Regions from separate parts of the Homo sapiens genome. Here regions 2, 3, 4, 5, 6 and 7 are each linked to region 1. The links are contacts of gene promoters, found by promoter capture Hi-C in blood cells and fetal thymus (Javierre and others, 2016). All regions are on one chromosome and are shown on one strand. The core of a region is centred on a gene start or on the middle of the fragment in contact, and the rest is flanking DNA. Distances in the headings are between cores, read along the strand shown.

Region 1 (3,399 bases), core at 71-2,570:
CATTCTATACCAACCAACCACAACCCCACTGTCTACGTTCCCAGCCAGAAGACTTAGAATCCATGCTTGAGCCAAAGCCGCCATTAAAACCACTGCCCGACCCTGCATTGGATGCTGATCCCCAACCAATTGTTGCACCAAAATTAGAACCACTACAAGAGTTATTTCCAGAACCGAAGGCCTGGTTTGGCTCCCTCTGCATGTTGCCTTGGCTTTGGTTATCATCCGATGGGCCTGGCTGCTTCGCTGGCTGGCTAACACACCCATCGTACACCAACTGCTCTGCAGCACTGCCTGGGGGGCAGCCATCATGGCTGGATTAATGCTGAACGCACCAAAGTTTATCCCACCACCCATATTACTACCTTGATTGTTTCCCAAACCAGCTCCACCCCCTCTACTCTTACCAAATCCACCCTGATTCCCAAAGCCACCTGGATTACCACCAAATCTTCCACTTCTTGCTGTCTATTGCTATTGCGCTTGGGTTCGGCATTGGATATGTGAACGCTGATTCCTTTCATCGAGTCCTCTCCACAAAGAGACCGCGCAATCTGATCATCTGCAAATGGAACAAAGGCAAAGGCCCTGAACGGCTTGGGGACGAAGACATCCATCACATCCCCATACTGAGAGAAGAACTCCCACAGCTCATCCTCAGTCATGTCCTCCGTACGGCGCCCCACAAACACTTTTCTGCTTCTCAAAGGCTCATCTTGGCTTTGCCGCACCATAAGAACGTCTCCAAAGGTACTACAGTACTCTTTCAGGTCCTGTTCAGTTGTTTTCCATGGGAGACCCAACACTATTAAATCGGACTGGTCTTTTCACTTTCACTGCTGATGAAGCTTCTGTCTCACCCATTTTTCTTTTGTTATCTTTCGGATAGTTGACAACATACACCGGATTTCTCCAGCCAGCATCGGGGGCATGCAGAATTCCTTCTACCAGCCGGACACCTCTCATACATTGAGACACCGGATTCCTGCAGCGAAGCCCACACGCCCCTGGAAACTGGGCTGTAACCGTGGACAGCAGCACCGTCCCATCGTCTTCCGATGGTATTTCAATGGGCTCATCGTTCTCATCTTCGGTTACCCGAATATATTCAGACATCTTTTACTTTTCCACTAGGCCGCTGCTGGGAAGCCCGACAGGGACACCGAGGCAGCGACGGACCCAAGCGCCAGTGTTTTTTTGTTTGTTTGTTTTTTGTTTTTTTAAAGAGGCCACCACAAGTTGAGGCGGGACTACAACTCCCAGAGGCCGCCGCGGCCCGGAGGCCACGCCCCTTGGCGGCGAGCTCTGAGCCCTTTGCCGCATTTGACACTCGACATCCTCGTGCTTCTTAAAGCACTTGCCCAACGGTGAGCAACGGCCTCCAACGGTGCCCGAGGGACTCGCGCTGCCCGTTAAGCAGCTTTGCGGTGGCGGAGGCTGGGCTGCCGTCTCTCCGACATCCCGGGACGGAGGAAGAGATGAAGGCTCTGCAGCCCCCGCCGCCCGATTTACGCTTGAGAAAGCGAAGGCGAGAGAGGTCGTCCAGCCCCTGGGGGCCCAGCCCTAGAGAGCGGGGCGCGGGCTGCGGGGCCCGGCGGCCTGGACGGCGGAGCGTTGAAAGCTCCCCCAGGGATAGGAAGTGCAGCCGAAATCAACGATTGAGGTCAGTGAAGGAGCGGACGCTTGAGGCCTTGGAGGGGAAGCAGGTTTCTCCAGGAGGGAACCCGGGCCTCCGCTTTGCTCAGCGCTCCCCTCGCGAATGTGTTGAGCACCTGTTATGTGCTGGGGGTACAGAGGTGAGACTCACAAGGCCCCTGCATTGTCTTTAAGATCAGCAAGACCCCGCAGAGAACCCAAATCCAACGCGCACTGCCCAGAGGCAGACACTGGCATTCCTTGATAGACGGTAGCCAGGGAAGCCCAGGTCTTACTAGATTATTATCAGTACTTGGATTTGAATGTATCTGAGAGGAGGAGGGTTAAGGTTTAAGCTGTGGCTCAGAAGCCCCTCAGCTCTTCGTGGAATCTCCCAGGCTTTTCACTCTTGCATCCTCATGGAAAAATACTGCCCTCCCTGGGAAACCATGCTTTCTGTGCACACCTGCTCTGTTCCCATGTCGCTGTACTACCTATTGACCTGTCAATGGATGATGACACTTGGGGTACTATCCTCTCTCCTCCAGATCTTGCCCCACCTTAACCTTGAAAGAATATTAAATGCGCCCTTAGACGTCAGGAACCATCCCTCAAACCTTGCCATTCCTCTCTGTTGAACCTGCTCCAAATCTTAAGTGCCAACCTCCATCTTATCCACTTTATCCTGGGGAACTTGTCCTCACACCCCGTTGAGGTTTCTTACTTATTGTCCTACTGTTTTCTTCACACTCCAGTTTCTTAAAAACAGTCTTCATTCTCATTTTCTTCATTTCCTCATCACCTGTTTGTCCCTAACAAAATTTCAGTATGGCTACATTTCCTGCCATTCTACTATAGAAAACTTCTGCCAGAGTCTCCAATGAACTCCTGATTGCCGAGTAGACTCTTCAGTTTTCTCACCCGAACTTTGCGGCATTTGATACTCAACATCCTCATGCTTCTTAAAACATTGTTCTTGCCAGAGCACGGTGGCTCACACCTGTAATCCCGGCACTTTGGGAGGCTGAGTTAGGCAGATCGCTTGAGCCCAGGAGTTCAAGACCAGCCTGGGCAACATAGCAAGACTCCATCTCTACCAAAAATGCAAAAAATTAGCCAGACATGGTGGCCCGCACCTGTAGTCCCAGCCACTCGAGAGGCTGAGGTGGGAGTATCACTGGAGCCCGGGAAGTCAAGGCTGCGGTGAATTGAGATCACGCCAGTGTGCTCTGGCCTGGACAATGGGAGTGAGACCTTATCTCAAAAAATTGTTCTCTGTCTAGTCTTCTTGCTCTTCTTGTTCCACCATTCCTTCTCAGGTTCTGGCAGTGGCTCTTCACAACTGGATATTAAATGTTGTCTTTTTTTTTTTTTTTTTTGAGACAGGTTCTCACTCTGTCTCAGGCTGGAGGCTGGAGTGCAGTGGTACGATCATGGCTCACTGCAACCTCGACCTCCCAGACTCAAGTGATCCTCCCACCTCAGCCTCCTAAGTAGCTGGGACTATAGGCGCACATCACCATGCCTGGCTGATTTTTGTATTTTTTTTGTAGAGAGAGATGTTTGTAGTGTTGCCCAGGCTGGTCCAGCAATCCACCTGCCTCACTCCCAAAGTGCTGGGGTTATAAGCATGAGCCACCGTGCCCGGCGAATATTGTCTTCTTAAATATTGTGCCCCACATTTCTTTGCTAGGCCCTCTTCTCTAGCTTCTAGGCTGTAATCTGTATGATCTCCATGGCTTCACCTGCTGTGCTACCAGCTGC
Region 2 (3,678 bases), core at 660-3,159, 320 kb after region 1:
AGCTCTGTCTGCACCAGGAGGACAAGCCAGGCTGGGTGGCCAAATAAGGCCCGAACCTCTGCCACCAGCTCCTCTGCCACCAGCTCCTTCTGCCACCCTGGGCAAGGTCGCAGGCTGGTGTCGCGTCTGTGTGTGACTGTTATTCTGTATGTGACTGTAACTGTTATTCTTTGTGTGTGACTGTGTGTGACTATGTGTAACTGTTATTCTGTGTGCGACTGTGTGTGACTGTTATTCAATGTGTGACAGTGTTATTCTCTGTGTGACCGTGTGTGTGACTATTTTCTGTGTGACTGTGTATGTGACTATTATTCACTGTGTGTGACTCTGTGTGTGTGACTGTTATTCTGTGTGTGACTCTGTGTGGATGACTGTGTTATTCTGTGTGTGTGACTGTGTGTGACTGTTATTCTCTGTGTGTGGCTGTAACTGTGTTATTCTGCATGTGACTGTGTGACTATTATTCTCTTTGTGACTGTGTGTGACATTGTGTGACTGTTATTTTGTGTGTGACTGTGTGTGTGACTATTTTCTGTGTGACTGTGTGTTACTGTTATTCTCTGTGTGTGACTATGTGACTGTGTAACTGTTATCTGTGAGTGGCTGTTATTCCCTGTGTGTGACTGTGTGTGTATAGCTGTGTTATTCTGTGTGACTGTTATTCTGTGTGTGACTGTGTGACTGTGTTATTCTGTGTGACTGTGTAACTGTTATTCTGTGTGTGTGACTGTTATTCTGTGTGTTACTGTGTGTGTGACTATGTATATGTAATTGTGTTATTCTGTGTGTGACTGTGTGTGGGTGTGACTGTTATTCTCTGTGTGTGACTGTTATTCTCTGAGTGTGTGACATTCTATGTGTGACTGTGCAACACTGTGTTACTCTGTGTGTGTGTGTGACTGTGTTATTCTCTGTGTGTGATTGTGTGTGTGTGTGACTGTGTTATTCTCTGTATGTGTGTCCCTGTGTGTGAGCGTAACTTGTTATTGTCTGTGGGTGTGTGACTGTGTTATTCTGTGTGTGTCCCTGTGTGTGGGTGTAACTGTTATTCTGTGTGTGTCCCTGTGTGTGGGTGTAACTGTGTTATTCTGTGTGTGTGAACCTGTGTGTGCACGTGTGACTGTGTTATTCTGTGTGTGTGACCGGGTACGTGTGACCCCATATGGACTTCACCACAGGGCCTCTGACCCTATCCTGCCACGGCTGCAGGTGCCTTTACCCACAGGTATGGCTGCCACCAGGCTAGAAGGAAGGGAGTGGAGGTGGCCGTGCCGAGCCAGGGGCCTGGGCGGCACGGGCAGAGGGTGTGCCATTGGGGTGTTCCTTGGGCTTGGCTTGGAGAGAAGCCATCGCGGAGTCCCCTCTGCTCCAGGAATTTTAACCCTCGAAGCCACAGCGGGTGAGCTCATTCCCACCCTGCCCCTTAGGTGCTCTCAGGACTCTGCTCCCCAGGGCTCTCTGGGGAGAGCAAACGCCATCTGTTTCTGAACAACTTTCTCCATAGATGTGGGTTTGTAGGCCACAGGATGCCCTTTGAAATGAAGTGGACAAAACCCAAGTGGACCCAGCCATCGGTGCTTTTCTGTGTCATCTTCCAACCCAGGACGTGGGTGTCAAGTGCCTCTTGCAGCAGAGGAAACTGAGGCTCTGAGACATCACTGGCCGTGGGTAGAGCCCAGACCACGCCGGCTCCTTCTGCCTCCAGCCCTGCATTCCCTCCAACCCCCTGTGACCTCCTGCTTCACAGAACAGCCCTGAGACTCAGGAAGAAAGGCCCCTCTGGCGTTTCATGGGGCTCAGAGCCTGTTCTTGGGGACTGATGGCCTGAAGGGGTCTTGGTGGCATTCACTGTTGTCACCATTCCATGATAACTGCTGCAATCATGAAGGTCCACTGGGTACCCCTGCATGACAGGCACAGGCTCGGCAAGGCCTGTGTGTGAGCTCGCTCATGCTCGGGGACCGCTGTTACCCATTGTTTTGTAGACAGGGAAATGGAGGTTTGGGAAGGCTGGAGGGCTGCCAGGTGAGAGGGCCAGGGTGTGACTGCACGGGTCTCACACCTCACCACTGTCCCTCGCCCTCGGTGGCCAGATCTGGCCACAGCTTGGACACTTCCTTGTCTGGGTCCAAGTTGCACTCACTGGGGGTTGAGGCCACAGTGGGCATCCGTAAGCCAGAGAGCCTTGAATGAGCCCTTGCCCCATGGGGGCAGCCTGAGTGCCTCTAGGGCAGGTGCTGAGTCCCCTTCACCCCCGTATCCATGATGCCAGTGTGATGCCAGGCTTGCTGTGGAAGTTGTGCCACCAGGGCTGCAGCCAGGGTAGGAACAGGCTCAAAGGCCTTTCCACCATCCCAGACTCTTCTCTCCTGGGAAGCAGATGCCTTAGGCTGCTGAGGGAGGAACAGCACAGCCTGTCACCCCCAGGGCACAGACAAAGACACACCATGGCTAGGGGAAGGATAGGAAGGAACTCTTTTTCCTTGGAAGGGCACCAGGAAACCATCCTGGCCTACGATCCTGCACCATAGAAAACAGAGGCCTTGGCTGGGTGTGGTGGCTTAACACCTGTAATCCCAGCACTTTGGGAGGCTGAGGCGGGTGGATCACAAGGTCAGGAGTTCAAGACCAGCCTGGCCAAGATGGTGAAACCCTATCTCTACTAAAAATACAAAAATTAGCCAGGCACAGTGGCGGGCACCTGTAATCCCAGCTACGAGGGAGTCTGAGGCAAGAGAATCGCTTGAACCCAGGAGGTGGAGGTTGCAGTGAGCCGAGATCATGCCGAGATCATGCCACTGCACTCTAGCCTGGGTGACAGAGCAAGACTCTGTCTCAAAAACACCACCACCACCACCACCACCACCACCAGAGGTCTCTTCTCACTGGGGAAGGGACAGGACAGTCACACCCAAGACCCCGACAGAGTTTGCCACAGGGAAGAGGGGTAGGAATGCTGGGGTGAAGGGCACAGGGAAGGGCCTGTCTAAACTGAGGCTGGACCAGTACACAGAGAACCCACCCCAAGCCTTGAACATAACCTTGGTAGAATAACAAGCAGCAGCTGTCTACTGCCGAGAGAAAGTGGGGTAAGATCCATGCTGCAGCACAGGCAGGCAAGAGAAAGCTGAAAGCAGAGGGTGGGGCACCACACTGAGGAATCTCCTCCAGTGCCCTAGTCCCAACCCTGGGCACAAGGCAATGACAGCTCATTGCTAGAGGTACTTGAGGCCTATGGTACATTGAAGATAACCATAACAATGACAAATCCCAAACCCAGCTCAATTCCTAACAAGATTGACTCAAATCCCACACTAACGGTCTGACAGAAGAGGATTACCCATTTCCATATGTAAATACTATTGACCGTAGTCACCTCTGTTCTATACATGAATGTTCAGTATTCAATAAAAATTATATATTTTTTGTTCAGAAGCAACAAAAAACAACCAACCCATTGTCAAGAGGCAAAACAATGAATGGAGTTAGACTCAGAGACGACCTAGATGTTGTAACTATCAGACAGTTATGTTAGAATGGCTAGTATGACAACGGGTCTAGTGGAAATGGCAGACAATATGCATGAACAGATGGAGAATTTAAGCAGAGAAGTGAAAACTCAAAGTCAAAGACAGTTGCTAGAAATAAAAAGATATGGCATCAGAGAGAATTCCTTCA
Region 3 (3,739 bases), core at 260-2,759, 350 kb after region 1:
AGCCTGGCCCCGCTGAGCTCATTCAGCCACTTTTCAGGGACCTGTTCCATGTAGCTGAGTGGAAGACACCCAACACGTGTTAGAAAGGGCTCAGGAATCACCCCCAAGCCTTGCTCACAACAGACAACCTGACAAAATCCACCAACCAGGTAACAAAGCAACAGGATGAGCGGAGGAGTGGGGTCACGGTCAGGGCAAGGGCTGTCGGAACCCAGCAAGCACCTGCGTGCAGATCCATGCCGGGCAGCCAAGGTCCCAGGGCAAGCGCAGTGGCTACAAACCCTGAATGCGCAAAAAAAAAAAAAAAAAAAAAAAAGTGGACCTACAGGCCAGGGCAGGGACCCAGGAATGACCCCTGTGCAGAGGAGGAGCCTCTTTTTTTTTTTTCTTTTCTTTTCTTTTTTTTTTTTTTGAGGTAGGGTCTGGTTCTATCACCCAGGCTGGAGTGCAAGTGGTACCATCATGGCTCACTGCAGCCTTGACCTCTCAGGCTTGAGTGATCCTCCCGCCTCAGCCTCCCAAGCACCTGGGTCTACAGGTGTCCAACACCATGTACAGCTAATTTTTAAAATTTTTGTAGAGATGGAGTCTCACTTTGTTGTCCAGGCTGTTCTCACACTCCTGGGCTTAAGTAATTCTTCTGCCTTGGCCTCCCAAAGTGTTGGGATTACAGGCGAAAGCCACTGCACCAGGCCATGAGGAGTCTTCCATTCACTTTTTACTTCTATTCAACGTCCTGAGTAAAGCAGGGATCACGGGGGGCCTCCTTCCCATCTGCTTTGATAGAGGAAGCAAGACTTCTGGGCCGGCACTAGGAGCTGGCACGAGCATGTCTCAGCCCCCACTTACTCCTGTGTGTGTATCCCATAAAAGGCTGGCCGGCCGCCTTTGTCTACGTCGCTCATAGGAAGGTGAGTCCCCTTTGACACGCAGCTGTTGTTAAATGAGACCTCTGATTTCAGAAGAGTCTGGAAGCTTCCCTCTGCCATATACCAAGATACCTGCAGGCCCAGCCCAGGGCCCTGGGACAGCTATGACCTTGGGCGGCAGCAGGCATGTGGCAGCTCTGGCCCAGAGGCTCCTGCCTTCAGAATCCCCTGGCCTCCATGCCAGCCTGGTTTTGGATACCAGACCCCAATAATTGCCTGGTTCTGCTTGCTTGGCTTCTGCCCCAGCTGCCAAGCCTCAACTGCACTTGGCTCAGAGACGGGCCTTTCCCAGAGCCTGTGTCCCCCATCAGGTCACCTGCCTGGCTCACAGTCCTTGAGACCAGCTGGGACCCTGCTTGGGCTGGGAGCATTCCCTGAGGCCAGCCACCTGGCTGTCTGGCTGCCTGCCGGTCAGCCTCACTTTGGGGTCCCGCTCATCCAACAGACACAGTGCCACCTGCCCACACCTGGTGATGGCCTGCCTGCAGGCAGCCTAGCGCCTCTCACCCTATTTGTGCCTTCGTGTTCTCTCCAGGGCCCTCTTCCCCTCCACTAGTTACTTGGACAAACTTGCCCACCCTAGAACCCCAGGCCCTCGCTGCTACTGGAGACCCTTGGAAGGCTGCCCTTGGCCCACTGCCAGGCTTGGTGTCTCAATGCGATGGACCTCACCAGGTTGGTAGGGACATCGCCAGGACGGAGGCAGCACCTGAAGGCTTGCATCCCCATCTCAGGAGGCCACAGTTATATGGAGGCAGGGCATCCCTCCACCTCCGCCGGGAACCAGGAGGGAGCCATGGGTACCAGCTGTGCGAGCCTGGGCAGGTGAAGCAGCAATCACAACAGCCCCACCTCCGCCAGGCTGCTGCTGACCTCAAAAAGCCAATGTACGTTACGTGCTCGACACAAAGCCCAGCACGCGGTAATAAACGCCAGCTACAGTAAACGCGTTTCTTGGACTAAGTTAAGGGATAATTAGGTAAACATTCAGCAGGCGGTGAGGACCCATTGATAGTTCTGGAGAATAGATCAATATGAGATTCAGGTGAGATGAGGAAGGTTTGGGAAAGGGACGATTTAAGAAGGCACGGGCCAAGTGCACAGGGAAGCTTAGTGCATGACAAAGGTGGCATCTCAGGTCACGGGGAGCAGAGATGGACGTTTGCATAAATGGGACAAGTGGGTAGCGCATCCAGAAAAAGATAACATTTGATTCATAGTTCACACCATACACAAGAATAAACTGGAATAAACTCCGATGGGCCAAGGATTTCGATGGAACCAGTGGGACCACACAGGCTAGAGGAAAACGTGGCAAATCCCTCTTTTCCCTTCATGTGGGGAGGGGCTTTCCACTAGGACTCCAATCCAGAGGCGATCAAAGATGGATGGTTTTGACCACATTAAAAAAATTGTGTGGCAACAAAAACACCAAAAGAAAAAAAAAACAAAGTTGAAAGACAACCAACAAACTAGGAGAAAATCTCTAATGTACACGAGAGACAAAGGCCTAACCCATCTAACATACAAAGAACTCTTTAAAAACGACCTGATAGAAAATAGGAAAAGACACAATTTGCCAAAAAGATAAAAGAACGGCCTGTAAACATACGAAAGATGTTCGGATTCACTCCTAAGTACAGAAATGCAAACTCACATGCTGCTGAGACATCACTTCTCACTTATCAGACAGTAACAACTCTAATGGACGACAACACAGTCTGTTGGTGGGTCTGGGGAAACGGGCACCCCATACGCTGCTGGTGGGAATGCAAACTGGCATCAGCCTTCTGGAGGGACGTTGCAAAACCTAACACATTCCTCCTGCTCTCACCTTTGGTCCTGCGACCCCACTTCTGGGTATCTATTCTGAAGAGTCAGCTCCAGTGCTGGGAAAACACGGATGCGTGAGGCCATCCACGTCGATGCTGAAATGGGAAAATACTGGCCACAACCTAAGTGCCTCTGCTCGCTTGGCTTCTGCCCTGGCTGAAAGGAAAATGGCTGAAAGACTCTGCACGGCGGAGTACTATACAGCTGTAAAAATGAAGGAGGAGGCTCCCTCTGCACTGACAAGGAGAGAGTTCCAGGTTATGTTGTTAAGTGAAGAAAAACCAAAGTACAAAGGAGTGTCACTAGTATACAACCCTTTATATAAGAAAGAAGGGGATGTAAGAAAATGCAGGCATCTGCTCATTTATGCAAAAGATATACAGGAAAGAAAGACCAGAAACTGATGAGGTAAGTTGCCCACAGGAATTGGGTGGGAACAGGGTGAAAGGAATGAGAGAAATGGGCAGGGGCAGGAGGAGGAGGGACAATGCCAGTTGTCTGAACACACCTTTGCGCAGAGACCTCTGCCCCTGGAACCAGTGTGATGATTATAGCTTTATGAGCCAACTTGGCCAGGCTACAGTGCCCAGTTACTCAGTCAAACACTAGTCTAGGGGTCACTGTGGGGGTATTTGGGAGATGTGGTTAACATCTATCATCAGTTGTCTTTAAGTAAAGGGGATAATCCTTGATGCTGGGGGTGGGGCCTCACCCAGCCAATGGTAAGGCCTTACCAGCACGTTCGGAAATTCTGCCTCAAGAATGCTGCGTCGGCTCCCAAGAGTTTCCAGCCTGCTGGCCTGCTGGGCCCTGGGATTGGGCAAGCCAATTTTTTGAAACAATATTGTTTTACCCAGCCTTTCTCGATACCATGGCTTAAATAGGGATTCACCCATGTTTTCTTCTAGCACCTGTATGGTTCCGTGGGTTCCATCTAAATCCCTGGGATGTGTGTACACCCACACATACGCACATAT
Region 4 (3,571 bases), core at 191-2,690, 450 kb after region 1:
CCACTTGCTAACGTCCCGAAAAGCTGACTGGCTTCACCAGCCATACTTGAAATACAACATATATGAACAGTCACTAAAAATCAGCAGGTAGCTAAACGTTTTTACTTTTGTCCTTGATGATATTGCCATCGTCTCTACTGTTACCTCCTCCTTCACTTCACTTTTTAAGTGCACTCATTCTGTGAAAACACCTTTTTTTTTAAATAGGGAAAGAAAAATGAATTGACTTGATATTCTTAAAAAATAAAAAGATGACCCAAAATATACAGAACCATTAATATGAAATTAAAGATCTTCTTTCTCAGTGGAAAAAAATTAGAACCACATTGCTGAAGTCTCTCAACATTTCATTTTTAATTTTTCTAATAGTACATTCTTTAAAAGAAGTTAACGACTTCAATTCCAAATATAAGGATTAAATAATGCAATGAAAAGCTGTCATTTTCAGTGAAGCTATTGCCTAATTACCCTGGAAAAAAGTATTCTTATGACTGAACTGATGCAAAAATCCCTTAGAAAAGCTTCATTTGTTGCCTGTAAAGAGTCTTCTTAAGGTCACTTTTACTTCTAGACTGCCCCCTTGTTTCCAGTGAAAGAGTTTTGCTTGGTAATGGCTTGTGGTTCCACAGTGTTTTGTGTATGAAAAGCGTAGACTAAGAGATACTACTGAAGTCGCTCAAATTGTAGATTCTGCCATGAAAGGAAGTCCCAACACTGTAACATTTCCCCTTAATCTTCAGCAAGACACATGAAAAAAAAAAAAAACTCAAGTCCCAACTGAATCTTTACTTTGATCATCACTTCCAGCGGCATTCAGAGGCTGCTGTGCGGTCAGACACAGAGCTCCCTCGAGGCCCCTGTGTGCTTATGAAGTACCTGCAGGTTCTGAGCGTCGGCGCCAGCCCGGGCCAGGGGTCTGCAGACAGAGGCACCTGGTGGCTGCTGGGGCTCCCTGGGGTGAGCCATGGCACGGGAGCCCCTAAGCGCCAAGCTCGCCACGGTCTTCGTCTCTCGGAAGGCAGGGGAAGAAGCAGCGCTCCCAGATAGGACAGAGAAAAGCCTATGAAACAATGCTCTCCAGTCACCAACCAGTTGCCTGATCAGAGCTGGAATTTACTGCTGGGACAAGAGTGCACTCCGATTTGCTTTCATTTTTTCCAGACGCTTCACTAAGTGGCCGTTGCTCACCTCGAGCTCTTCTGTTTTATCCAATGCAGAGCGGAGCTGGGAACGGAGGAAAGGCAGTGAGCTTTAAGGAACTTGTTTCCTCCAAACATAACAGGGTTCTGTGTTACCGAAATTCCAATCCTACTGAAAAATAAAATGATAACTTGGCCCCTGGTCCCTCATGATGCCCTTCCTCCTCTGAAACAACTGGACTCCAGAGAGGGAACACCCTTGGGGATCCTGATGGTTTTCTTTTTTTTTTCTTGAGATGGAATCTCGCTCAGTCGCCCAGGCTGGAGTGCAGTGGCGTGATCTCGGCTCACTGCAAGCTCCGCCTCACGGGTTCAAGCGATTCCCCTGCCTCAGCCTCCCGGGACTACAGGTGTGCGCCACCACCCTCAGTTAATTTTTTGTATTTTAGTAGAGACGGGGTTTTGCCATGTTGGCCAGGATGGTCTCGATCTCCTGACCTCGTGATCTGTCCGCCTTGGCCTCCCAAAGTGCTGGGATTACAGGCATGAGCCACCACGCTCGGCCTCTTTTTTTGTTTGTTTTTTTTTTTGAGACAAAGTCTCGCTCTGTCACCCAGGCCAGAGTATAACGGTGTGATCTTGGCTCACTGCAACCTCCGCCTTCTGGGTTCAAACAATTCTCTTGTCTCAGCCTCCTGAGTAGCTGAGACTACAGGTGCACACCACCACACCTGGCTAATTTTTTGTATTTTATTAGAGATGGGGTTTCACCATGTTGGTCAGGCTGGTCTTGAACTCCTGACCTCAGGTGATCTACCCACCTCGGCCTCCCAAAGTGCTGGGATTACAGGCGTGAGCCACACGCCCAGTGGGGATCCTGATGGTTTCACAAAAGGTAAGTGAGGCATGAGGTAAACAAACACAAACAACAAGAGCTGAGCCTGGACTGCATGGCGAAGGTGGTCCCCACAGCCCTGGCAGCCAGAGTCCAAGGCAGGAATGCCTGAGGCCAAGACGGCCACACCTGGGAGCCAGGGCCATGGAGCCTGAGAGTCAGGCAGAAGACGAGCTGCAGAAGCCACATTAGCAGGGCATCATCTGGACCCACAGGCAGCAGGGCAGAGTGGGGTGCCCTAAGCTGGGAGAACGTGGTTTTGGAGGGGTGACAAGAACAGGGTCTATGGCTCTGCTTTCGACCCAAAACACTCAAGGAAGCTTGTTTGGGTCCTGGGACAGAAGTCCCGACCCCACCTCACTAGCAGAGGCAGAAGCAAGCCCTTTTTGCAGGAAGTTTCCACAAGTTAAGCCTGGAGTTATTCCTACAAATTAAAATCAAGCATAAGCTCACAAAACACTAAGGTGACAAACCATTTGAGTGAGAGTCAACAGAAGCAATAAATGACAGAATTAGACCCCCAAAGACTGAGCATGTTTCAGTTGTCAGATACAGAAAACCAAACAGCTGTGTATGAAATATTTAAAGAATAAGAATACAATTTAAAAAGAGGACATACATGAACATGCAGCAAGAAACTATCAACAATGAAGACACTTTTTAAAAAAAATGGTGAACTGGAAAATCTTTGCAAAAACTTTAGGCATTATCCAATAGAGAGAGGTAAGGAGATAGAAAACATGAAAGAGAGATGGTTAAAAAATGTGGAGACAATGAGAATCTCTAACATCCTCTGATTAGAGTTCCAGAGGGGAAAGTGGAGAGACTAAAAAAGAGGAATTATTTAAGGAGTTAATGGTTGAATATTTTCCAAAATCAATTTTTAAAAAGACTTCACAGATCCAAGAAACACTATATATCTCAAGCAGAAAGATTCCAATAAACTACATCTAACAGTAAAACTGTAGAAAATCAAAGACAAACAGAACCTGAAAGAAACTAGAGAAGAAAAAAAAAGGTCCCTACAAAGGACCGACCGTTAAAACAACAACTTTCTCAACAGCTCAATGGAAGCCAGCAGATGGTGGCATAATCGCTATAATCATTGAGGAAAATGACCACCACACAGAATTGCATGTCCCTGAATACTACTGTCCAAGAACAAGGATGAAACGAAAACATGTACAAACAAAAACAGGGAATTCACCACCAAGAAGTCTGCTCTAAAAGAATTTCTACAGTATGTACTTCAGTGAGGAGGAAAATGATTCTAGTACAGTCTGAGACACTAGCAGGACAGACATATAAAATGGCCAATATGTAGTTATGTCAAACAAACATGGGCAATATAAAACAACAGCAACAACAACACAACAATAGTATTATCTGATAAGTGGGATTTATGAAGCTCAAAAGTATTTATGTGTGGATGTACATGTGTACATATACATATACACATATACACATATGTGTGAGGGTGTGCATGCCAGGCAGGAGGGTGAAGCTAAAGTGCTCAAAAGTCCTTCTATTTTATAGG
Region 5 (3,620 bases), core at 382-2,881, 270 kb after region 1:
GGGCCCACCGTCATGTGATGCTATACTAGAGTCAGTTGGAATTTGGCATCTTATTAGTACAAACAGCCTGTTTTGTCAGTCTTATGATCTCTGTTTTAATGTTAATGCTGGTGAGCTGTGCTTGAATGCCAAAGTGAGGAGGGTATAATGCAGCATGTCTGACCCCTCCTTCCCATCATGGCCTGAACTAATTTTTTAGGTTTCTTCAGAATCCCCTTGTTCAAGAGGAGGGGTCCATTCTGTCGATTAGGGGGCTTAGAATTTTATTTTTGGTTTACATGTCCAACATGGCTGTGAGGAATAGAGAAGTTCTTCAAAGTTTCTTAAAACCATAAAGAGCTTGTCATTTCTTTGCTTTATGCATATCTATATATGTTCCAGTGCAGCTGCTCTGACTTGACCTGGCATGCCTGGACAGGGTTAAGGCAGCCCGGGACCATAGTGCCTGCCATAGCTTATTTGGAAACCCTCCTGACCCTCTCATGACTAGCTTCCTCTTTCCTTTGTCCTCTTTCCTCTTTACCTATTTAGAAAAGTTTCAAGCTGTTAGCCAATCAGGTCAAGCTTAGAATGTGAGGTCCCATTCTGGCCAATGGAAATGGGACACAGCCATAGGACGATTGCATCAGGTTACAAAGATTATAAATGTCCCCATCTCCTTTGTTCAGGTGTGCTCTCATGGCAAGACTGCTAGCGAGCGGCACCCTTTCTGCAGAAACTAAACTAGCCTTGCTGAGAGATCCTTTGTCTCAGTGTTGATTTTGCCACACCGAACTCCCATTTCCAACAATGGCAGAGCTAGGATTTAAAGCCAGGCAGTCTGACTCTGAGATTTGCCCTCAGCCAGCACACCTTGAGGCAGCTGATACAAAGAACTTGAGGTAAGCTCTGGGAAGCTGGAGATGGTGCCATGAGTGTATTGCCTGCAGGCCTGTCACCTGAGTCCTGGCCTCTGTGGGCTGGCCTTGCCCTACCAGGTGCCTCCAGGGAGCTAGGGCCTGGGCTCAGACATCTCCACAATCCAGGACATAAAGGGGGCTGGTGCCCCTAACTGTAACTTTCATGTTCTCTGGGAGGGACTGGCTCTGCTTCAGTCACAGAACCACTGTGTGTGTGTGTGGGAGTGGGGTGGAAGTTCAACTGTGAGCCTCACAGAGGAGTGTTGTTGCCCAAGGAAGGGCAGGGGGAGACAATGTCCTCGCATCCCTTCCTCCCTCACCCCTGTAAGTTCAACCCCAGAGGCTTCCAGCTAGGATGTGGAAGGGGAGATGGCCTGGGCTATCTATATTTTCAGCCTGGTCCAGGGCTGGCAGCACTCTGGCCTGGGCTGGTGCAGGGACCTGGGAACCTGTGGGGTGAGGGAAGGGTCTCCCAGGCAGGAAAAGTGGCCTCTGCCAGCATCTTATTCTGCTTAGGCTGCCATAAAATACCACAGACTGGGTGGCTTACACAACAGATGTTTATTTTCTCACAGTCTGGAGGCTGGGTAGTTCAAGATCAAGGTCTGGCAAGGTAGGGTTCGTTCTGAGGCCTCCTCTTGCTTGTAAGCAGCCGCCATCTGGCTGTGCTCACACGGCCTCTGTGTGCTGGGGCAGAGAGAGAGAGAGTGGGCACGCAAGCATGAGAGCTCTCTGTTGTCTCCTTATAAGGATTCGAATCCTGCCAGGTCAGGGCCCCAGGTTAGGGCCTCATTTAACCTTAATTGCTTTCATAGAGGCCCCATCTCCAAATACAGCACACTGTGGGTTAGGGCATCAACATATGAATTTTGGAGAAACAAACATTGTGTCCCTTGCTTCCAGGAAAGCCCTGGAGGGGCATCCACTGCATTTAGCCGTCCACTCCACTCTTCCCTCCTGCCCTCACTGTGGGTGGGGCACACTCCATTCATTCCCCACTGGGGTAGGCATTCCTGGCTCCGGGCTTCAGTGGAAGATTGGCCTCCAGAGGTACGATCTGCAGTCTGGGTGAGCTGGCATCACCAAGCCCAGTGGGTCCAGTGCTCATGCCCCTTCCTCCAGACACAGTGTCCTTACCCCAGGCAAGACCTTAGCCATGTTCCAGGTGCAAGCCCTTGTTGTGTGAATTGGGAAACAGCCCAGGGGATGCTGAACTCCCGTGGGAGTAGACATGGGAGAAAGGGTGCAACACAGCCCTTGGCCAGCCCTTGCTCCACTTGTTTTGTGTTGTTCTAGATTACTCCCAGGTGTGCATCTGCCCTCCGGCTTCATCTGGTGTTCCTGGGGAGCAAGGCCCAGGACACTCAAGTGCAGGCCTGGACACATACAGGCCCCATGTCCCTGTGGAGCCTTCTCAAATCTACTTCAATCCAAATCAGGCACTATATAATAAGTACCTGTCAAGGGCTGAGTGTCGTTGGGGACAGACCCTGCCCTCCAAAAGCCTCAGCTAATGGGAGAAACTAGCATTTAGTAAACCACCACAGAATAGGGGCAGGGATACAACTGTGGCCGCTAAGGTTTGTTCCAGACAGGGGGGAACAAAGCCTCCACTGACCCACATGAGTTTAGGGATCACTGGGGAAAGGAGGGAGAGAGAACTGTGCTGACGGTAAGCCTTGCCTTAGAATTCAACTGAGGAAGCTGAAAATAAATGCCAAAAATCCCATGTCCCACTAGCTCATTCTCTTGCTAAAAGGGGAGACAGGTAAATGGTGTTTCTGTTAGGAAAAGCTTTATTGGGCCTTTTGGGGCCTGGGGTCTAACCTGGAGAGGAGGACAAAGATGAGACTACAAAGCAGCCGGAGGTGGTGTGGAGTGCTGTGAGGCTGTCTGAGGGGCAGAAGCTGAGAGGTGACACCCAAGTCCCAGTTCTGGGGTCCTCCGTGGCATGAGGGAGGGATGAACTTCCCATAGCTGGGGCAGATGGGGGCTCAGATTATCATCGTTATTATTATTTAGTAAGGGGTCATCCAGGAAGCAGACAATTGAAAATTCTAAGTAGTATAATTTTAATTACATAACTGGTATAATTAAGTTTTGCTTTTGCAACTGGCCTCCAGGGAATACAGCTTGTTTCTTTTTATTTCTTAAAAAAAAATAATACAGTGGGCTGTGATGGCTTTGTTGGAGAGGGACTGAGTCAGAGTGGTGTTTTAAATCTGATGATAGGATTGAGATCGTCATCATTCACCTACAGCAACAATGGGCTCCTTTTAATAAGGTCTGTGCATGGGGACTGGAATAGGGACATGGTAGTCCTGTGGTTCTTCCTCCTTCCTGGCTGCCCATCAAGTGACCCCAGAACTGGCAAAGCCCTACAGGACCATCAAATGTGAGAGAAGCCACCTTCCTCTGGGGGCTTTTTGGTTTTACTTTCTTGCAGAAATGGATTTAAGTTGTCTGCCTTTGTCACACTGTCTCCCATTTTGTATTGCATGTTCTTTTGGATTAGTCACTAACCAAGGTTAGTTCAAGTTTTCAGGGGTTTTATTTTATTTATTTTTGAGACGAAATATTGCTCTGTTACCCAGCCTGGAGTGCAATGGCACAATCTCAACTCACTGCAACCTCCGCCTCCTGGGTTCAACCGACTGTCCCACCTCAGCCTCCCGAGTAGCTGGGATTATAGGCACGTGCCATTGCGCCCAGCTAATTTTT
Region 6 (3,737 bases), core at 446-2,945, 400 kb after region 1:
AAATTATACTTCATAAATACTAAAAAAAATCCCTGTTCTGAGAAAGACACTGTTAAGGGAATGAAAAGACAAGGCACGAAGTGAGAAAAATTATTTGCAAATCACCTATCTGGTAAAGGACTTAAAATCAGAATATTAAAAAATCAAAATTCAATAATAAAATAAACTGAATAAAAATGGACACAACATAAGCAGGAATAAAATACCAGTATACACAACAACATGGATCAATCTCAAATGCATTCAGGGAAAGAAGCCAGGCTAACAGGGCTATATAGTATAATTTCATTTATATAACATTCTGAAAAAGGTCAAGTTTTAAGAATAGGAAACAGATCAGAGCACAAGATAATTCTCTGGAGTGATGGAACTGTTCTGAATCTTGATTATGGTGGTGGTGACTTGCCTATATGCATTTGTCTAAAGCTATAGGCACCAAAAAGTATTGAATTTTACTGTGCGTAATTTTTTTTTTAAAATCTGTGGAATGCCTATGGGACTCCAGGCAATTTGCTGAGCAGTGGAGAGAAAAGACTGAACAAGGCAAACTTTACCACTTTTCACAGGGTGTTTACCTCCATAAGAGAGACATGAGAATATATGAAAATACAATGACTACATTTTACGGTTTTAACAATTATGAGATAAAGTTAGCTATGAAAGAAAAATAAAGATGAAATTATAATTAGTTACTTATAGAGTAGTAATAAAAAGACGGCGAAAGACTGGCAAAGAGCCTAGTTAAAACGAGTTTTTCGTTAGCTTGGTCTACAAAGATCTAGATTTCCCCCCAGGAACAATTGGAGTTGTACAAAAGCAGGTTGAGGTGGATTCAAGGTTGAAAACAATTCAGATTAATGCTGTCATTCCCATTTCAAGACTGCATATTGAAGTTATTTATTCTACAAAGCTACTTACAGCAATATGACGTACAAAGACCATTTAAGGGATCTATCAAAAACACTAACCTGGTCGGAAGGGAAAACCTCACTGTCTTGCTCAGAACCCAGCTGCCGTGGCCTAGTTCTGGGCAATCTAGAAATGGAGAATTCTGAGTGGATTTGTTTGTTGGTGCTTTTCTCTAAATTATTCGAACTAATTCTATTCCCATTTTTGGAGGAAAGTGGTGATGTATATTCTCCAAGAATTTTAACAGGCCACACATTTACTGACTTTCCATTTATTTCTATCCCATTCATTTCTTTCACAGCTATCTTTGCATCGCTGTTTTTTGTAAAAGCAAGAGATGCATATCTAAAACATAAGAGCAGAAAACCAAAAGGTTGTTAATGACTTCAAATTACATCAAACTTAATTTTGCAACTACTGATGCAAATACGTTTTTCACAAGAGTAACTGCTTTTAAAAATAAAAAGGTTGCTGTACTTACCTTGGGATTAAGAAGAATATTTATTTAGGATAACTAAATAAAAACCAAGTTAAAGATGGGAAATAGAAGAAAAGTATTTCTTACACATTATCTCCTATTAATTTCATATTAAAATCTAATGTAAAATATTTGCGAAGCTAATATATGATAGAGTTGCAGAGATTAGTGGTCTGGGGACAACTGGTTATCCATAACTTAAAAACCTAAAACTAATCCCTATGTATAAACGTAAACTTCAGATAACTTAAAGGCTTAAATGTGAGAGGCAAAATTTTAAATATTTAGCAGAATATGCAAAAGTGTATCTTTATGACCTTGTAGTGGGGAAATATACAGACAAAAACAAAGAGTTGGAAAATCTAATCAGAATTTTAATTATATATACAAGAAAGTTGGGCAATAGCTATTCCTATAAAATCATCAGCCCTAGACAGCGTCAATGGAAGGATATATACCAAATCCCGGGAAGAGTGGCTGTTTTCAAATGATGGGACTATGGATACATTTTTATAAACTCCTTGTAGTTTTGCACTTAATTGTACTTTCTAAATTTCTACACAGAATGCAAAATACTTCAAGTAAGAAAAAAACATAGTTTTAAAAAAGTATTCAACAAGATACTAAAAGAGTTTTCACATCAAGTAATAATCCTAGGATTACAATACTACTTTAATGAAATGTATTAACATCATATCAACAGGTTAAATAATTACAGCTGAACAATTATCTTACAATTATATGACTTCATTTAAGACACACATTTTTAATAAATTGCAACCCCAACTACAAACAGGATCCTTTCTTAATTGATAAAAATTTTATATCTGAAATAAACAGCTATCACTTTTAATAATGAAACAGTAAAAAAATTTCCATTAAGCTATCGCCATTGTTATTTAATACTTTTGAATGATCTGGCAATGTCACAAAACAGAAAGTAGCAACATACATACTCAGACTGACTACATGTAAATGAGGTAGCTGTCTACCTAAAATATATAAAAAGTGTCAACTAAAAAGTAACTGAAATCAGAAACAGTGAAATGAAATACAATTTTCTGAGCACCTACTATGTGCCAGGCTTTATTCCTAGTGTTTCACATATTTTACTTCTAACAGTTTCACAGCAATGCTGTGAAGTTAGTATTATTATCCTCACTTTATAGACAAAGAGGCTGAGGTACAGAAAGGTTAAGTAACTTGCCTAAATTTATTAACCAAGTTGTTGACAGAGCTGGGAATTGAACCGATGTTATCTATTTCTGGAAGCCGTTCTTTTACCTAATGTGCTCTACTTCCCCTATGAAGTGGCATGTAGCAAGATAAAGTATACAAAAATCAATAACTCTCCTGTATACCATTAACAAGTTATAAAGTATAATGAAAAAAAAGATCTGGTTAAGAACAGTATCAACTCAAGATTGCAGCTATTTGTCCCTATGTCCCCTTCCCTGGCCTGTGAAACCCTGTGAGAATAACCCTTGACTTTATCACCACTGTGGCTGATATCTGGTATAGAACCTTTGGCAAACAGCAGACACATAATAATGCACATTGATTAAAGTTGGGAAACACACCTGTAATTAGTAGAATCATAAATTGAAATTTCAGAAACTTGGTATTTTTGGAAATGAGACCTTAAATCGGCCTAAAAGAAGAGAAATAAAAGTTTGTGAAAGGTAGAAAAAAACAACAAATATGAACAACTAATAAATTTGAAAATGAAGCTCAAAAAAATAATCCTGGTATACCTCAGATACTGAAGGGCAGAGGCCACCAACATGTATCAAATAACCTTTATCTCTTTGTGAGGGTTCAACATTCTTCATTTCTGCTTAGAGAAAAACATGTAACAGAAATGATCTTTATTGTACTGATATGTTTCAGAGAAAATGTGAACACTGTTAAATATTTTGTTTCCTTTCTACTAACCCAGAGTTTATTATAAAGTTATCAGCAACTATCAGCACTTCTAGACTGAGGACTAAGAGCCTGCAATATAGTTTTAAGATTTCTGGGCCTTAATCACATCATCTTAAAAACTAAAGAGGCTGGGTTAGTTAAGTCTCTTGTAGCTCAAAAATGAATAAATTACATCTAAACAAAGTAATCAATTACTGTAATTGTTGTCCCTCAGTATCCCTGGGGGACTGGTTCTAGGACACTCCAAGGATGCTCAAGTCCCTTATGTAAAATGGCACAGTATTTGCATATAACCTACACACATCCTTCTGTGTACTTTAAATCATCTCTAGATTAGTTATAATACCTAATACAATGTAAATACTTGTTATACTGTATTGTTTAGGGAATAATGAGCCTCCCAAAAAGTCTGTATATGTTTAGT
Region 7 (3,703 bases), core at 67-2,566, 290 kb after region 1:
TGGGGGGTTGGGGGGCATGTTTCAGCCCTGTTTGTGTTACAGCTCTTTCAGTCACACCATGTGGTGAGTTCTTGTCCCATGTCCAGGAAGAATGAGGTACGTTGGCAACTGGAGAGTGAGAAAGATGGAGAGGAATTTTAATGAGTGACAGAACAGCTCTCAGGAGACCCAGAGTGGGTAGTTTGTTTCCACAGGGAGGTAGTTCTGATGAATGCAGCCCTCAGCAGAGAGGAGATCCGGAGTGGGTAGCTCCTTTCTGAAGGCAGGGCATCCTGATGAGTGTCCAGCTCTCAATGGAGATGAGACCCAGGGTGGGTAGCTCCTGTCCACAGGCAGGTTGTCCCGACAAGTTGAGGAGACCCAAAGTAGGTCGTCCCTTCCTTCCTGCAGCTGGTAGTCCTGATGTCTGTGGGAGTCTGGGGTTTTTATGGGCTTAGAAGGGAGGAAGTGTGTGCTGACCGTGGGCAGCCATAGGTGGGCCTGGAAAAAGTACCATAAGTTCTCACTCCAGGCTGTGGACTCCATCTGTAACTGACAGCCCAGCCCCTAGGCTTCAGGCTGTCCCTGGCTTGAATGTGGGGCTTCACTGGGGACCCTCCTCTTCCCACTCAGGAGCCTGTCTGCCTCCTGCTGCCATCAATGTGCCATCCACGGCACCCAAGCTGTTCATGTTGAGGGGCACCTGCAGGCCCTCACTGAGCTGCCCTCAGCACCCCTTTGGCTTCCCTCCCATGCTGGTTGACACCCAAAGTCCAGAGGGGGCAAGGTTCCAGGGGGCTGGCATGTCAGCAGCATCCCAAAATCAGGCACTCAGCCAGGTCATGACAGTGCCCAGGATGGGCCACAGCTTTGCTCTACCATAGAGTGGGCACTGGGAGCAGTGGGAAGCCAGGCAGCAGGAGCAGACACTTTCAAGCCTGCAGGGGTAAGGGGCTTCCTGGGCCCCCAAGAGTGCACGGATGCCTGGGTCTGGAGCTGAGGCTGAGTGGCTGCAGCTGCGCCTGGGAGCATGGGGCTTCTGTCCTGCCGACTCAGTAGGGGCCGGGGCTCCCGCCTGTTCTGTGGAGCATGCCGCCCTGACCACACCTCCCCCACTGCAGCTGGCATTTTCACAGTGGCCTCTCCAGATGGGCCATTGCTGCCATCAAAGCCAATGATGTCTACTTGCTCCCTGTCCACATGACTGGTGTTTGCTGTGTCTCTAGAAAAAAAATGTGTCAGCCAAGAGGAGGCTTAATACCCTATGCCAGGCCCTGTGCTATGATTGGCCACTATGTTGATTTAAAAAGACAAGGTATTAAATGTACCTCCCCTTAAATAACGCCATGGGACTGGCAGTTTATGTACTTAACAGGAGCTGGGCAGGACAGATGAAAATGGAAGAGGGGAACATATATTCAGGGTAACTTGACTATATGTCTCCTGGGTTGCAGTCCTCAAATTTGGCCCAAATAAACTCTCTAATTATACTTAAGAAAGACAGAGAGAGAGAGAAAAGAAAATCACAGAAGACAAGAATGAGCTGCATACAAACTTCTTGGTTCAGAGGGGCTTCATTACCCACCATTACAAAATTAGATAGGAAACCAAAAGTCAGCTGAAAATAACCTCTGAAGAACAATCTACTTATAGCCAGGTGTGGTGGCTCATGCCTACAATGCCAGCACTTTGGGAGGCCGAGGCAGGAGGATCACTTGAGCTCAGGCGTTCGAGACCAGCCTGGGCAATATAGTGAGACACCCCCGTTTCTAATATAATAAAAGGAAAAAAATTAATATGGCAAGTGATGTTAGTGAAAATACAATAAGGAACCCTGAAATTATTGTGCATTCTAAGAAGCAACAAAACATTGGCCCAAACTGCTGGAGTTAATTTCTTGGAACTCTGGAAATTAAACAAAGACTTGTAAGAAGTCAGGAAGCACTTGATAAGAGGAAGAGCTGAAGGAAGGGCTGGAGTCTCTGTAAGAGCAGCAGGCTTTGTGGCAGTTAACTTACTCTATTCCCCTCCCTGGCTCCCCAGCAAAGCAGGAAACTTGAAAATGAGAGGCCAGTTTAGGTGCAGTGGCTCACGCCTGTAATCCCAGCACTTTGGAAGTTCGACATGGGTGGATCATCTGAGGTCAGGAGTTTGAGACCATCCTGGCCAACGTGGTGAAATCCCGTCTCTACTAAAAATACAAAAGTTAGCCTGATGGCGTGTGCCTGTAATCCCAGCTAATCAGGAGGCTGAGGCACAAGAATTGCTTGAACCTGGGAGGTGGAGGTTGCAGTGAGCTATCACGCCACCGCACTCCAGCCTGGGTGACAGAGTGAGACTCCATCTCAAAAAAAAAGAGAGAGACCAAATATACAGACAATGGCCAGGCCATATACACAAACAGAACTCTCACCCACAACCGGTAACAACAAGCCCAGGAAGGAAGCCAAACCCTTATCTGCACATAACAACTCAGGAAGCCAGCATGCTACAAGTCAGACTTGTTGGAGGTCCAATTGCTCTCTCTAGAAACAATCCACAAAGTAAAAACAATTACTTCTGTGACAATTGGCCCCACGCAGCCAGTTGACTGGTTAATAACTAGACACTTTCCTAATTTTTGTCCCTGCTTCCAGCTGAGGACCAACCAGAGAAAGTCAATTTGCTCCCCTAAGCAATCATATAGAAGCCCCATTTCTAGCGAGCCCTCCAGCTTCCCTAGGTCAACAGCCTCCAATCTGCACACACCTGAGCCTTCCCTTTTCTCCAGCACGAAGCTTCCCCACTCCCCTGCCTGCTTTTGAGTGTCTGCTGAAACACAGGAGAGTGGCTTCCTCCCTTGTCATAGCAAGCTCTGAGTAGATAAATAGCCTTTGCTTCTCTCCTTATTTCCATACAGGTAACAGCACACATCCCCAGCACCAGAGAGAGCAGAACAGACCTCATTCTCAAAGAACTGTCATTATTTGACCTGTCTTCCCTGGAAGACCAGCTCAAAACACTTTATTTTTTTTTGACCCAGAACTTTCCCAGTGTTGAAGACTTACGCAGGGAGTGTTTGTGGAAAACACTTATAGCCAAAGGCTTTAGTTGTTGCTGCCCGAGGCAATAGATAACAGTTGAGAAAAACAATAATTGAAATTCTTCCTTTAATTGGAAATGGTGTTCAAAACAAGTATTTGAGTGCTCAGTGTGCTTATTGCTACTAAGGTGTTTGTGTGTGTGTGTGTGTGCATGTGTGTGTGTGCACGTGTGTGTGCATGTGTGTGTGTGCATATGTGTGTGTGTGTGTGTGTGTGTGTGTTTGAGATGGGGGTCTTTTTATGTTGCCCAGGCTGGTCTTGAATTCCTGGACTCAAGTGATCCTCTGACTTCAGCCTCTCAGGTAGCTAGGATTACAGACTCATGCACCATTCCCAGCTCAGGGTATTGGTTTTTAAAGGCCCTTTCAGCTAGCAGGGTAAAAAAATAGAGTCATGAACCACATGACAATGTTTGGGTCAATGATGGATGATATATTTGATGGTGGTCTCATAAGATTATAAGACTGTGGAGGCTAAAGCAATTCCATCTTGGACTCTAATCCACTATGGTGACTTCTCATTAACCCCTGTTCAGGGAGGCCTCTAAGATTTCTATTTTATCTACTATTACCATAAACCCTGGCCTTGGGTCAAAATGACCTTGGCCATAAATCCTGCCCTTAGGCAGATTCACATAGCAT

What was found. The method cuts DNA at HindIII sites, captures the fragments that hold promoters and counts their contacts. A CHiCAGO score of 5 or more calls a contact.
Region 2: a fragment that was not itself captured here is called in contact with the fragment with the promoter of LINC02610 in region 1 in 1 of 17 cell types (total CD4 T cells); the score reaches 5.0 in total CD4 T cells.
Region 3: a fragment that was not itself captured here is called in contact with the fragment with the promoter of LINC02610 in region 1 in 4 of 17 cell types (activated CD4 T cells, naive CD4 T cells, erythroblasts and 1 more); the score reaches 6.9 in activated CD4 T cells.
Region 4: a fragment that was not itself captured here is called in contact with the fragment with the promoter of LINC02610 in region 1 in 3 of 17 cell types (total CD8 T cells, megakaryocytes and total CD4 T cells); the score reaches 5.9 in total CD8 T cells.
Region 5: a fragment that was not itself captured here is called in contact with the fragment with the promoter of LINC02610 in region 1 in 2 of 17 cell types (total B cells and neutrophils); the score reaches 5.5 in total B cells.
Region 6: a contact is called between a fragment that was not itself captured here and the fragment with the promoter of LINC02610 in region 1, in 1 of 17 cell types (activated CD4 T cells). The highest score is 5.1, in activated CD4 T cells.
Region 7: a contact is called between a fragment that was not itself captured here and the fragment with the promoter of LINC02610 in region 1, in 1 of 17 cell types (activated CD4 T cells). The highest score is 6.0, in activated CD4 T cells.

Annotation. Positions count from the first base shown.
Region 1 is chr2:238,229,598-238,232,996 of GRCh38, reverse strand. It overlaps LINC02610 (long intergenic non-protein coding RNA 2610), which reads left to right and starts at 1,320. Exons shown (of 3, transcript NR_026926.1): 1 at 1,320-1,663. It also overlaps the pseudogene TARDBPP3. The HindIII fragment of the contact is 6,584 bases long and covers 851-3,399 here.
Region 2 is chr2:237,907,604-237,911,281 of GRCh38, reverse strand. The region is part of intron 2 of RAMP1 (receptor activity modifying protein 1); the gene reads right to left. Among named protein-coding and RNA genes, the nearest start is that of RAMP1, 50 kb to the right of the region's middle. The HindIII fragment of the contact is 4,100 bases long and covers 1-3,678 here.
Region 3 is chr2:237,880,490-237,884,228 of GRCh38, reverse strand. The region is part of intron 2 of RAMP1 (receptor activity modifying protein 1); the gene reads right to left. Among named protein-coding and RNA genes, the nearest start is that of RAMP1, 23 kb to the right of the region's middle. RefSeq lists an enhancer at 1,095-1,596. The HindIII fragment of the contact is 1,063 bases long and covers 978-2,040 here.
Region 4 is chr2:237,777,075-237,780,645 of GRCh38, reverse strand. It overlaps LRRFIP1 (LRR binding FLII interacting protein 1), which reads right to left. Exons shown (of 24, transcript NM_001137550.2): 24 at 1-1,224. The coding sequence ends at 1,114. Among named protein-coding and RNA genes, the nearest start is that of RBM44, 20 kb to the left of the region's middle. The HindIII fragment of the contact is 1,833 bases long and covers 524-2,356 here.
Region 5 is chr2:237,959,733-237,963,352 of GRCh38, reverse strand. LOC124908001 (a long non-coding RNA gene) reads right to left here. Exons shown (of 2, transcript XR_007088146.1): 2 at 1,442-1,586. Among named protein-coding and RNA genes, the nearest start is that of UBE2F-SCLY, 5.4 kb to the left of the region's middle. The HindIII fragment of the contact is 2,129 bases long and covers 567-2,695 here.
Region 6 is chr2:237,826,734-237,830,470 of GRCh38, reverse strand. It overlaps RBM44 (RNA binding motif protein 44), which reads right to left. Exons shown (of 16, transcript NM_001080504.3): 11 at 3,142-3,221; 12 at 2,968-3,038; 13 at 969-1,254. Among named protein-coding and RNA genes, the nearest start is that of RBM44, 30 kb to the right of the region's middle. The HindIII fragment of the contact is 8,322 bases long and covers 1-3,737 here.
Region 7 is chr2:237,940,970-237,944,672 of GRCh38, reverse strand. No RefSeq gene overlaps it. Among named protein-coding and RNA genes, the nearest start is that of UBE2F-SCLY, 24 kb to the left of the region's middle. RefSeq lists an enhancer at 2,795-3,294. The HindIII fragment of the contact is 2,884 bases long and covers 1-2,758 here.